4 separate regions of the Homo sapiens genome follow, and all the other regions are linked to region 3. Evidence: promoter capture Hi-C in 16 types of primary human blood cells and fetal thymus (Javierre and others, 2016). All regions are on one chromosome and are shown on one strand. The core of a region is centred on a gene start or on the middle of the fragment in contact, and the rest is flanking DNA. Distances in the headings are between cores, read along the strand shown.

Region 1 (3,406 bases), core at 896-3,395, 1.3 Mb before region 3:
CCATACTAGCCCCCTGCCACCCGTGCAGGAAATTCCACTCCCATCAAGCATGACTGAGAGTGCCCATGTCTTTGCAAACATTGATTAATCCAGATAAAATCGAGACTCAAGATTCTATTGAAAATTTTATTTGAATCGCATTCAATATATAGATTAATTTAAGGACAATTACTAGCTATAAATACTGAGTTTCCCCATCTAGAACATCCTATATGTCTCTATTTCTCAGAGACATATAAGTATGTGATGTGGTGTTTTGTTGTGGTTTCTATTTTTCTATCCCATTATCACAATAGTTTCTCTAATACATAAGCATGGCTGTATTCTTGAAGAAAACCTTGATTTTGAAGTCATATCTTATAAGTAAGATTTGTCATGAGTGCGTGTGTATATATGAATGATTCCTTTCTGGGTCAGGTTTAGCTTATCAGTGTTTTGCTAGTGTCAACATAGCAATAAGATTTCCATCTTATCCTGTTTTCAGAAGCAGTTATTAAAAACTTAAGAATTTTCCCTTGCCTAAAGGTTCAGAAGAGCCTGGTCATAAAATCACATAATCCTGGTAACTTGCTTAGATGCTGGTTTCTTCTATAATTATTACTGTGTTCAGGTTTTCTTCTTCAGATGAGTCAAAATCAGTATACGTATTTTCTAAAAGGCAAATTCAACAATCCAGTTTTTCAGTTTTGTCAAACACTTGTTTAAAATATTCTAATGTTTTCTCTGCTGTTCATATTTTTAGAGTCCATTTCTTTATCATAATAACAATACTTCTATTTCGGATCTCTATGTCAGGCACTGTATTAATTTAACTCTCAAAATACCCTTTTGAGATAGGTACCACATTTTTTTCCCATTTTTCAGATGAGGAAATTGAGTGGTAAATCATTATGTTACTTGTCCGATATCAGACAGAGAACAAGTGGCCTAATAAGAGTTCGAACTCAAAGCCTGTGTTCTTAACTCATACCAACAAAAAGCTGGCAATTCTTTAGGTTCTTTCAATTGCAAATCTAACTCTTTTACTTTGTGAAAGGAAGAAGTTCTTTTGTAAGACCTCTGCAGCACAAGTTTCAGGGATAGGTCTTCTCTCTAGAACAAGTCCCCAGACATTTTCTTATATATCTACATAAGAATTTTTAGGTTGAGAATCAAAATTTTCATTATAAATATAGGAAGTTACAAAAGATACCTTTTTTCTTATTGTAAATATGTAACGTTAAAAATAAAACTGTCATGTCACTTTAAATTGTATGTAGTGGGAATCTAAATACCATAATAATTTGACACCCACTACAATCCATTTTTAAAAAGGCTCTTCTAAGTAAAAATTTTACACCATTCTTTTCTTTTTATTTATCTTTCACTTGCCCTATAAAACTTTATACTAAGCTAATACATATTTTTATGTTTGGGCATCTTCTATTATCTTTTAACATATTTTTATAAGAAAACTATACAAACTTAAAGTTTAATTTCCTTTGACTATAAGTTTCTAAGTATTGAATTACTTTTTTCTGGACTAAATTATTTCTATAATTATTAGTTGTATGCAGGTGACTTAAACAACAAATTTGCAAATGTTGATGATTTTCAATCATGAAAATGTAAACTTTACTTGAAAATGTTTTTCTTAATGAAATAGATGGAACTGAAGCTTTACTGATTTCTCTTATTTTTTCTATTAATTCACATATTCATCAATGAATGTTATTATTGTCAATTGAAATATAGTTCAGCATCCATATAATCCCTATTTTCATTGTCATAGATGCAAGTGCTGAGAAAGCTTGTTCACATAAGGTAACAATAGGTCCTAGAGGGAGTTTTGATATAGCAATCGTATTCAGTTCTTTGAATTCATTATTGGGTATATGACAAAAATTACTTAGCGATATTTCTTCAAAAATTATTTTTAAAGATTAATCAATAGAAATTCTATTAGGTTCTCTTTAAATTTTATTTAATTCGGTGAAAAAGAAATCCCCTGATTTGCAAGAGGATTTGTTACCCAATCATTAGGCATTCACTTTCTCAGCACCAACATCGGTATTTCTATTTGTCCATTGTTTGGCATTCTGGTTAAGTTTTACACACTAATACAATGCACCATTGTAATACTCAAGAATACTGATGGAGGCATATGCCTCTCTCTTGTAAAGAAGAAAAAGGTTACTATGAAAATGAAAGTGAGAAAAGCATATTTTTAAAAAACTGAACTCCTTTCAAACAGATGGATTTTAGGCTAAAGAACGTATGAATAATGTGAATATAGAAACTCCCTGGCAGAGGTGTCCAATCTTTTGGCTTCCCTGGGCCAAATTGGAAGAATTGTCTTGGGCCACACAAAAAATACACTAATGATAGCTGATGAGCTTTAAAAAAAAAAATCACAAAATCATCTCATAATGTTTTAAGAAAGTTTACAAATTTGTGTTGGACCACATTCAAAGCCATCCAGGGCTGCAGATGGCCCATGGGCTGCAGGTTGGACAAGCTTGCTAAAATACCTATGAATGCAAGTAACATTTGGAGTTACATCCCCAGATGACCACTGCTCTGTGCTTTAAACACTCTCTTTTTCTTAACAATTTTAAATGTCAAATTTCCAGGAAAAACTCACCCAAACTGGACCACCAGTTTGAGGTGAGTTCACTAATCCTTCCTCTATGAATCACAGTTACTTGGATAGGACTACATATCATACATGGGGCTACCAAGCATCAGTTGCTATACAATAGAAAGCAGTCCCAGAAAAGGTGGAATTTTGAGCTGAACCACCCTCACAAGAGTTACCTACAACAGGTATTCATGCATCTTCTCTTATTCTTCTTCAAATTTGCCAATTTTAATTGTATTTATATTTAATTCCTGTTTATAGTTTGTTTCATCCTTTCTACCAAATTATTTAACCTTACTTTGTTAATCCTTATACTTTTGTTTGGTTTCTTTTTAGTTACTTACCTTCAACATTGAAAAAAAAATACACCTCCTGTTATGAATGTCCCCCCACCAAGTACCACTATGCTTATATTCTATAGGTTTTAATATATAGTAACCTTAATGTCATTAATTTCTAAGTAATCTGTAATTTCGATTTGCAATGTCACTGGCAGTTTAGGAAAGTGTTTTTACAGCTTTCGTATGGAGATTTTTCATCTTTTTCCAAGATCACTAAATATCTTCCCTGCTTATTTATACTTGCCTATTGAAAAATCCCAACAGAGCATCCACACGGTCATTTTAGAATATGAATATTTCATAGCATGCTCTCCACAAAACTCTATAATAGATTTGCATCAACTTTAGAATAAATTCCAAACTTCCCATGGGTTAGATTACTCTCCTTGGTTTGGTCCCTCCTACCTTCCCATCCTGCTCTGCCGCAATCTCCTCTTTACCCTCC
Region 2 (3,512 bases), core at 843-3,342, 1.9 Mb before region 3:
TGACCTCCACATGCTTTATGTATTACACATTCAAAAAGTATATAAATTTTTAGCTTGGTATCTATTGAGTAGAATAATTAAAAAAAAAAAAAGTCTAAAGAAGGCCGGGTGTGGTGGCTCATGCCTGTAATCCCAACACTTTGAGAGGCCGAGGTGGGTGGATCACCTGAGGTCAGGAGTTCAAGACCAGCCTGACCAACATGGTGAAACCCTGTCTCTACTAAAAATACAAAAATTAGCCAGGCGTGGTGGCGGGCCCCTGTAGTCTCAGCTACCCAGAAGGCTGAGGCAGGAGAATCACTTGAAACTGGGAGGCGGAGGTTGCAGTGAGCCAAGATTGCACCACTGCACTCCAGCCTGGGCGACAGACTGAGACTCCACCCCCCAAAAAATAAAATAAAAAGTCAAAATAAAAATAACTTTTCTTTCTATAGTGTTTTCTTATGATAATATTTATTGACTTATTTATTTGCCAACTGTTCCTCTTTATCCCTTCAGTCTATTACCACCCATGATTAGATGCAGTCTCACAAATCCCTACTTTGATGATTAACCTCTTTCAGTCTTATAGATAAATAATTGCTAAAGGCTAGAAAAACTATATTCTTTAAGTAGCCAAGAATGCTAATATTCTACCAGATATGGTTTGGATCTGTGTCCCCATCCAAATCTCATATTGAAATGTCATCCCCAATACTGGATATGGGGCCTCGTGGGAGGTATTGAATCACTGGAGTGGTTTTAATGGCTTAGCACCACCGCCCTAGTGATGTTCTCATGACAGAGTTCTCATAAGACCTGGTTATTTAAAAGTGTGTGCCACCTCCAGCCCCCACTTCCTCCTGCTCTGCCTGTGTGAAGATGCCTGCTCCAGCTTTGCCTTCTGCCATGAGTGAAAGTTCCCTGAGGCCACCCCAGCCATGCTTCCTGTACAGCCTGATGGAACCATGAGCCAATTATACCTCTTTTCTTTACAAATTGCCGAGCTTCAGGCATTTCTTTATAGCAATACGAAAATGGACTAATACACTCACCATAATATTTTTGGCCATCAAAGAGGTGCTATTCAAATTTGGTGGTAGGGGCCAGGATAGGTGGTAGAATTGGTAGAGAGACAAATGGATTGTTGACTCTTCATTATGGAATAGATCTCATAAATAGTCGTATAATTTCCAAAATTAACATATATTGAATCTTTTAGCAGATTTAAAAAACATGTATATTTTTAGTTTTGCATTGCAGAGTAATGAGGTGTATCTGCACGCCAAGGAGCAGGAACTACTGCATTTATAATATACTCTCATGTATACAGTTACAATTTCTTACATTCTGCAGATAGAGGTATCAATGCTATATACATGTTAGAATAGGGGAAAATACATAGCATGGAAAATACCGAGAATTGGAGCAGCTCTGGATCATGCCCAAACTTGGCAAGAATTCAATTAGGTCTCTAAACAGCAGTCCCCTGAGCTGCTTAATGGAGAGAAAACCATTAACTGGTGCTTGTAAACAAAGAGAAGGAGGACGGAGAGTGATTTTTTGATAGGACAGCAGCTAGAGGTGAGTTACAATATCACTTCACAGGGATTAAACTGCCCTGGCAGGGCTTTTAATAAATCAGCTTCTTGCAGGTGACACCTGCAGCTTCTTGCAGGTGACAACTGTAGAGCGTCACCTGCAGGGGCTTTGCAAGCTCCTGATGCTTCACAAGCTGAATGAACAAAGAGGCTTTGGAGGCCAGAGCAGAAGTCTGGAACTAGGGCTATATCTCTTACTCTTCTCCTAGCCAGAATGAAACCAAATTTGCACTGCATGGAAACCAAGTAAAAGATTATTTTGGCTTCATAGCCCCGTTCAATGCAAACTTCAACAGACTTGTCCACATTAAACAATTAGAGAAAACACAACATAGAACTCAGTTAAGTGCCAAATTGACTGTGTCTAAACACCAAGATCCACAGTCTGGTTCTCAAGCTTTAGTGGGCCTCAGAACCACCAGTAGGACTTTCGGAAATCCTAGAGGGCTGGTCCACACCCCCTAGTATTTCTGAATCAGGAGGTGATTTGATCACCTGGTTTCTCTTAGTCTCTGACTGAGAATGTGCTTTTCTAACAAGCTCCCAGGTGATATTGCTACTGTTGGTCTGTGCACCACACTTTGAGTAGCAATCAGACCAACAGTTTTGGCACCACCTGGAAGCTTATTAGAAATGTATAATCGGGCTCTACCCCAGATCTAGGAAATCAGAATCTGCGTCCCACATTATCTCTGCACATTAGAATGTGACAACATTGGTGTGGATCAGTGGTTCTCACCTTTGGCTGCCCATTGGAATCACATGAACATTTATAAAATACAGATGCCTGGGCTCTTTCCCTCCTCACCACCACAGAATATGATTTTTGATGGGTCTGTGGTAAGGTCTAACCATCAGTATTTCTATTTTTATTTTTTTCTGAGACAGGGTCTTGCTCTGCCACCCATGCTGGAGTACAGTGGTGTGATCATGACTCACTGCGGCCTCAAACTCCTGGGCTAAAGTGATCCTCCTGCCTCAGCCTCCCGAGTGGTTGAGACTACAGGCACATGCCACCACATCCAGCTAGTTTTTTAACATAGAGATGGGGTCTTGCTGTGTTGCCCTGGCTGATGTCAGACTCCTGGCCTCAAGTGATCCTCCCACCTCAGCTTCCCCAAGTGCTGGGATCATAGGCGTGAACCACTGTATTTTAAAAATATTCCAGTAATTGAAAAACCATGTAGCCAAAGGATAAAACCACTGGACCAGGTGATAAATTATAGGGATGCTCAATCTTCAAGGGAGCAAGGATTTGGAAGAGGTCCTTTTGCTTGCTGTCTTCTCTACCTAGAATTCTTCTCCCTTGGTCTTCTCCCACCTGGTTCCTAGGTGTTCAGGTCAAGTGCTCAAGTGTCACTTTTTCAGAGAGCAAGTCCCTGATGATTCTAAAATTACTGTTACCTGAAACTCCCCACCACCCCCAGCCCTATACCCTGCGCCAGTCACTACTGCATTTCCTTTGCTTTCTTAACACTTATGCCTGTTTGGGCTACATTATTACTTAATTTATTTATATATTCTTTCTTCCTCGTTAAAGAAGGGACCTTAAACACCTTGGTTATGGTGCCTAGGAAAGGGTCTTGTACACAGTTAATATTCAGTAAATATTTGTGGGCTAATATTTTTGTGAGAGAAGGGTATCAAAACACTTTGGACAAAGAGAATGGCAAGGGTTAATGTTTGAGCATGGCATGTGCCCAAGTACATGAAATAGTGAGAAGATCAGGGAGGTAGAATGTTAGGAGAGAAGAGAGAGGGGAAGAGGGGAAGAGGGAAGAGGTTGGGGTTGGCCGGAAGAAAACTTCTGAATGTGAGAACAAGATAGAAAACCTCACAGATGTGTGAGGAACAGGAGAATACATTAAAAACAATGGTTTAGAGACAGAAAGAGAACTATCTTGTGATTGCAGAGGCAGAGACTGTCCGATC
Region 3 (3,200 bases), core at 397-2,896:
GAAACAATGTTAAGACAATTCTGTATTGATGTTTTTGTGCAACTCCCTCCTCCCTTTCCCTCTCTCAAAGAATCTTCTTCCTAGCCTCATAAGCATGGAGGCAGACATGAGCTACCCTTTATTGTGTGCTTGGCGCTATATATATTCCCTCATATTCTTATGGCCTCTTAAAGTAAATATAATTATGTCTTTAAGGAAGAATCAGGGTCTGCAAGATCACACAGATAAGTGGTGGCAGCAGAATTGAAACTTAGATCTCTATGACAAAATTCCATGGTTTGCAATCAGACAAAACAGTTCAAACCCGTTTCCTCCACATGGGTGCATTTCTATGAACTTTTGCATGATGCTTTACCACAATGAGCCTTGCTTGGGTTTTATCAGTAAGATCAGATTATCAGTATCTAGAGACAGAATTGCTCTGAGGGTGAACTCAGATAAAGGTCTGTTCAAAGTACTTAGCACAGAACCTTGCAGAGGGTTGCCCCTCAGTGAATAATCACTATTATTACTATAACTATCACTGTTATTGTTGTTATTGCTGTTGAGATTATGATGTCAGGCTTTCCAGACACAGAGTATGGTTTCATTTGATTGTCCTACATGTATTAAAGTCCTACTGTGAGCAGGTTACTATTACTAAACTTTAGCTCCTCATGAAATGTTTATCTGGAAGCAGGTGAAAATAATGTGAGTGAATATGTATTACTTTAAAGACCACACCAGGGAAGCTCTTCAGACTTGAAGATAAGACCTTATTGTTTAAACTTGTGTATTTGCTAAGTTAGGCAAAAAATTGCTCTAGAGACTTTTTTGACTAAATTAAACCAAATATCATCAGATGCATGTGTGTACAAAGCCACAATAAACCTGAAAATGTCGCTGGGGAGGCAAGATCTCCTAGCATTTCAGAACAGGCTGATTTGATCATGATTTAGAGAGCTTTTCCATACACTTAGGCTGCTTTCTCTTCCTATGGCTGCAGCACACTTTAGTGGAAAATAAGCCCATAGGTATCTCATTTTTGGGGTGTGTGTGTGTGTGTGTTTTGTCCTCCCACAATAAGAAATCTCATCCTTTCCCATGGGCTCTGATTTTCTCTAACGTAAAGACATCGCTACTACTGTAGATAAAAGCAACACACTGTCAGAATCACAGAGAGCTAAGAGGTTGGACTTTATGTTCCATTTCTATTTTATTTGAAGATAGAAGTTTGATAACTTTCACAGATCTTTTGAGAGTGCATAATATATATAATTATGCTACACATATTGTTCTGCCACATCCAGATGCAAACTTCTAAAGGTGCAGCAGAGTACATCCTGCCACCAGCTGAGAAGGAGAAAGAATTATGGAAGGAGGGAGATAATTCTTGCCTATAAAAAAATGAGTTTACTTTCCTAATAAAATAAATCTAAAATTGGCCATTGTCATTGTATGATGTTAACAACCAGCTCTTTTGGCAAGTTTGAAAATACTGGGCTCCATTATAAAAGCTAAAAATGTCCTGGACCTGGAGTTGTTTACCCAGAGCATGAGCTGCTCTAAAGTTACAGAGCTCTGGTTGGAAGAGGTGGCTTGAAGGCCGCCTCCAAGTAACTGACGTCACAGTAGTCTCAGCTGCTGCTGTGACACTAAGCTGAGCAGCTTTTTGACTTGTAAAAGTGGTGAAGGTTTCAAAGGGACTTGTCAGTACTGCTCTGTGGAATGGTTGGACTTATTTTGCATCCCCTTTTCTTGTAAAGAATCGAGATTCACCGAGCTGAGACTTTTCTCTTTAAGACAGCTAGCCATCCACTTTCTTCCACTGCTAATTGACCAGTGGTCGAGCATCCATAGGATTTCTCCCCAGTGTGAAAGGTATGTTTCTTTCCGGCAAGTTTACAAGCAAGTGACTAATTATGGCAGGATACAAAGGGGCTGCTGTTGAGATGTTTTAAACTATGGATACTGTTTAAGTGGAGTGTAATTTCAACATCTGTCTCTGCTGTTGTCTGTGTCTGGGCTTAAAAACAGTGGGCGGGGTGCATAACAGATTGTACTGACTCCTAGGAAAAAGGCTGTTCAGCTGCTCAGGGTGGATTTCCCAACTGTGGACTGACAGTACCATCCGCTCTTTGAGACTGTTTTTCCAACACTGCTTCTCAGTTGTTTGAAAAGCACTTTGCCCATCATTGATTTTCACTAAGTATATTTATTCAAATGTGATTTTTTTTATTCATATAAAGACTTTTAACATTTGCAAATTAAAGGTCACAATCCTGGAGACTTGGTATTTGAAAATTGCGGTGAAAAATAAATTTTAGTTTTATCTAAGGTGGTGGTGGACTCACTGTAGAGTTAGTGTTTCTGTAATTTGAGCTGAAGTCTATGCCATTCATAATTGAATAATCTACGTTTAGGAGGGAAACTTACCACTATGTCTTTTGTTCACGATGGTTAGTTTTAGACATTTGTTTACTCAAACCAAATGTTTGCTTTTAAAGTTTGCATTTTATAAGTAAAATCAGTGTGCATACAGCTTGGATGTTTTCTAATTTGAGTAAATAACTGTAAAGAAAACAAGGAAGAAGATAATTAAATGAAACGGTAAAGTTGATTCATTCGGAATTGCATGTGGTAGTGTCTCTTTGACCTTGTTGGAGCATGAGGAATGTGCTAAATCAGCAATACACAGCAATGAAAAAAATTTCCCTTTTACTCTAACAAAATCAAATCATGGTGGTCTTTGGAAAGATTCAATTGCAAGTGAACAATAGAGAGGAATGAGATTTATTAATTCATTGAAATAATTCAAGTGATTATAATAGCCTGGAGAAAGGGATAGAGAATTTAGGAGGTAAATGGTACATTACTCTGATAGGTTATAAGCTGGGGAATTCCTAATCCATCAAAGTTAAGCAGAAGCAAAACATCTTCAGGCCAAATGAGTCTTCTAGGAATTGTGAGATTAGCAGTACCTACTGTGTGTGGCATTTCTATTGGAATATGTAACCTCTTATAAATGAAAAATCTTTAATTATGTGAAAAGTGATATGTTTAGCAAAAGGAAATAAGGACAGCAAGAAACAAGTACTCTAAACAATAATCTAAAAAGAGAGAAGTAGCAATGGAGCAGCTGCCCCTAAGGAACGCTGTTTAGTTTGTTTGGATGCAGTCCAGTTTTCAATGGGCGAGTTGGAGGTTGAAAGGGTAGTGAC
Region 4 (3,526 bases), core at 161-2,660, 1.3 Mb before region 3:
GCATTGAAAAACACAAAATACTTGAGAAGAAATTCAAGATAAGATATGACAGTCCCACACAATGAAAACTACTAAATTTTTCTGAGAATTAACAAACAGAAAGATAGTCTGTGTTCACTGAGGTGAATGATGTTGTGAGAGGCTACCACAAGGCAATTTCTTATTCACTTCCCTGGTTCTGATGGCATGGGATTCTCCTTGCCCTTCCTCTGCCTCTATGTCCCTTGCTTCCCACCGCACTTCCTTTGGCACAGCTGCAGACTATAAAATTATCTAACACATAATTGTTGCTCTCAAGTAATTTAAATCTTTGCAAAGACCAAAGTTTTCTTGATTCTGGCAATAAGATGTATATGTTAATTTTTCTAGTGTTGGCCCTGAAGGCAAAATAAATATCTCAAAGGTAGGTCTTCATCTACTTCCTCTATTGAAAATCTCCATTGTTAAATCTAAATTAAAAACCTGTATCAAACAAAAGGAAAATCAACAGATTATTTGCAGTTTTAATGATTATTGTAAAGTTGGAAATAATTCATTTGCTACCAAGCTAAAAAATGCAACTGCTTCATTCAATAATAACCAAGGACAAAATGAATTGTAACAAAAATTTAATATATATTTGACTAGATCTAATTAGCATTTAATATGATATTTAAAATGTTTTAGTGATGTTTTTATTGGGTCATATTGGAAGGTGCCTTTTGAATAGGAACTCAACTTGAGTGAATAATCCTGCACTTTATAGGCACAATTTTTCAGCTCTTATTTAATAAAAATTTCAAAAATTAGACAATTGGTAAGATATTTTCATTAAATCTAAATGGGCTCAGAAAACTATCAAAGGCATAAGCTTAGTCTATCAGATTGAGCAGTTTCTAAATGGCCACCTCATCTGATGCTAAGCTTCAAATAGATGAATGTAATTGTTTTAAATGTTGCTACTTGTAAATTAAAACACAAAAGTAGTATCTATATTAAATGGTTAATATGAATTATCAAGGGTATATATTTAATTTAGATTTACTATTACAGGCATATTTTCCTGTGTTATATTATCACATTTCACAAAATTTGTTTTCCAATCAATTGCTTGATACTATAGCGTGTTTCTAACGTATGCAAGAGTCTGTGAGTTTGAATTTATATTGTCAAAATAACCATCTCTATCCCTTGGAGGTATGGGTTTAGGTCACAAATTTGAGGACCACAATTATCATTTGTTTTTCCCACTGTTAAAGTAGAGAGATAAGTGATTTTGAGAAATTAAGCGGTTCCGCACAATTGCTTTAAATATGAACATTTTTATTTGCTTCATACCCCATCCATGTTTAAGAGAAGTGAGTTTCAAAAGACTAACCTAAATCTTTAAAGTTTGTGTGACTTCAGGACTCATTGCTGTTGAAGGCAAAATTAAAATACCAAAAAGTTCCTTTTGAACAGGAACTTAAGTGAATAAACCTTGTGCCTTATAGATTTAAGTTCCACATATAAAAGAGCAAATATCTAAATGCAAAGGGAAAAAACAGCAGTTAAGGGAGGTCATTTCAAACAACTGTCATAAACAACAATCATCATTTATGAAACTTAGTAAAATAAAACACTCTCACTAATACCTTAATTTCTAATGTCTTTAACTAACTTAAATTCACTGTAGACAGATTAAAATACAAACTATTTCTCTCAAGTAAAATGTATCTATTTTTTCAAAATATATTATATAATTGCGGCTGTATCATTGACTTTTCAACTCATGCTTCTTATTTTAGTGGTATGTACTCCCAGATGAGTAATTTAACGGAAATATTTTATATAATAGCACAAAATACAGGACATTTCCCTCCCCGTACCATAGATATCTTTTCAAGTTGATTTAATTATCAATGCATTATAAGGTTATTATGATAGGAGGTAAGCTTTGTTTATAAATTTTAAAACCATCAGATTATTTTATTCATTCAAAAAACCTTTAGTGACAGAATTGATTAACTGGCCAACAAAAATTCATGATTTCTCTCAGGAATGTAAGCATTTCTATTGGGAAGCAGCTGTCTATGCAAAGTCTACAATTCCAATCCTTTGTGAATAAAAGTGATGTATGCCACTTCAGGCTGAGAAACAACAGCTCTGGTTTATTCTCACTCTTTTCTGACCTGCCAGATAAATTCAGAGGACTTCAAGGTTCTAAAGGATATTGAAGATACAGAATGGAAAGAGTTTAAGGTCTTGAATCACTGGATACAAGGCTACTTATCAACCAAGAACACCTATATTAAACTATTACTTGAGCAAAAAAGAAAAAAAATCTCTACTTACATAAACTCACCAAAAGAAACAATATTTTGCTTTGTTTCTTTCTAAATTTTATAGCTTCTCTATTTTTTTTTTTTTTTTTTTTTTTTGGCAGAGTCTCAGTCTGTCACCCAGGCTGGAGGGCAGTGGAGGGATCTTGGCTTGCTGCAACCTCCACCTCCTGGGTTCAACCGATTCTCCTGTTGATTCTCCTGCTGATTCTCAGCCTCCCAAGTAGCTGGGATTACAGGGGCGTGCCACCATGCTCAGCTAATTTTTGTATTTTTATTAGAGACAAGGTTTTGTCATGTTGGCCAAGCTGATCTCGAACTCCTGACCTCAGGTGATCCACCCACCTCAGCCTCCCAAAGTGCTGGAATTAAAGGCGTGAGCCACCACACCGGCCTAAATTTTATAGCTTCTGATATTATCTTAACTAATGTAGATATTGGTAATTTGAAGTGGGATACATCCTTTGAAAAATGCCTTACATGTGTCACACTGGCCTAGTGATCGGGTAGTAGACAATGAAGAAATTGATAACAGAAATGGAAAATATGCAAGAGTCTATTAGGCAATGGCAAAAGATTGGGTAAAACTGTCAACATCAATACATTGAAAGTCATAGAGCTTGCAGCACTAGATGAAAGGTTAGAAAAAGTCAGAATGTTGATATAGTAGTATAAATTTTTTATTAGCCCCCTATGATATTTTGTATTGCTGTGTATTTTAATTTTTCACATATTTTAACAACTACAAATAATTACTATTATTGTTTTAAGAATAGTATGTGATTGGATTTATCCACATATTTATCTTTACCTCTTGAATTTACGTGTTTCAATCTCAAATTATTTTACTTCTGCCTGAGGAATTTCTTAAGTGTTTGTGTTCATTCAGATCTGCTGGTGGTGACTTCTCATTCTTTGTTTTTCTGAAAATGTCATTAATTATTTTGTCTACATTTTTGGAGGGTTATTTGCTTGATATAGAATTCAGGTAGGCAATTTTTCTGTAGCATTTTTAAGGTGTCATTCTATTGATTTCTGGCTTCCATAATGATTTTGTTTGATGTATGTATTTTTTAACTTTCATTTTAGGTTCAAGGGTACATGTGCTGGTTTGTGTTATGGGTAAATTTCATGTCACTTGAGTTTGGTGTACAGATCATTTTGTCAGCCAGGTAATAAGCATAGTACCCTATAGGTGGTTTTTTGATCCTCTCCCTATTTCCACC

What was found. The method cuts DNA at HindIII sites, captures the fragments that hold promoters and counts their contacts. A CHiCAGO score of 5 or more calls a contact.
Region 1: a contact is called between a fragment that was not itself captured here and the fragment with the promoter of KIAA0408 in region 3, in 1 of 17 cell types (naive CD8 T cells). The highest score is 5.3, in naive CD8 T cells.
Region 2: a fragment that was not itself captured here is called in contact with the fragment with the promoter of KIAA0408 in region 3 in 3 of 17 cell types (naive CD8 T cells, non-activated CD4 T cells and total CD4 T cells); the score reaches 10.5 in naive CD8 T cells.
Region 4: a contact is called between a fragment that was not itself captured here and the fragment with the promoter of KIAA0408 in region 3, in 1 of 17 cell types (naive CD8 T cells). The highest score is 5.4, in naive CD8 T cells.

The regions. Positions count from the first base shown.
Region 1 is chr6:128,718,684-128,722,089 of GRCh38, reverse strand. No RefSeq gene overlaps it. Among named protein-coding and RNA genes, the nearest start is that of LAMA2, 160 kb to the left of the region's middle. The HindIII fragment of the contact is 708 bases long and covers 1,792-2,499 here.
Region 2 is chr6:129,362,253-129,365,764 of GRCh38, reverse strand. All of the region lies in intron 32 of LAMA2 (laminin subunit alpha 2), which reads right to left. Among named protein-coding and RNA genes, the nearest start is that of ARHGAP18, 350 kb to the left of the region's middle. The HindIII fragment of the contact is 226 bases long and covers 1,980-2,205 here.
Region 3 is chr6:127,457,835-127,461,034 of GRCh38, reverse strand. KIAA0408 reads left to right here and starts at 1,646. Exons shown (of 6, transcript NM_014702.5): 1 at 1,646-1,860. The region is part of intron 7 of SOGA3-KIAA0408 (SOGA3-KIAA0408 readthrough); the gene reads left to right. The HindIII fragment of the contact is 12,466 bases long and covers 1-3,200 here.
Region 4 is chr6:128,748,590-128,752,115 of GRCh38, reverse strand. No RefSeq gene overlaps it. Among named protein-coding and RNA genes, the nearest start is that of LAMA2, 130 kb to the left of the region's middle. The HindIII fragment of the contact is 1,010 bases long and covers 906-1,915 here.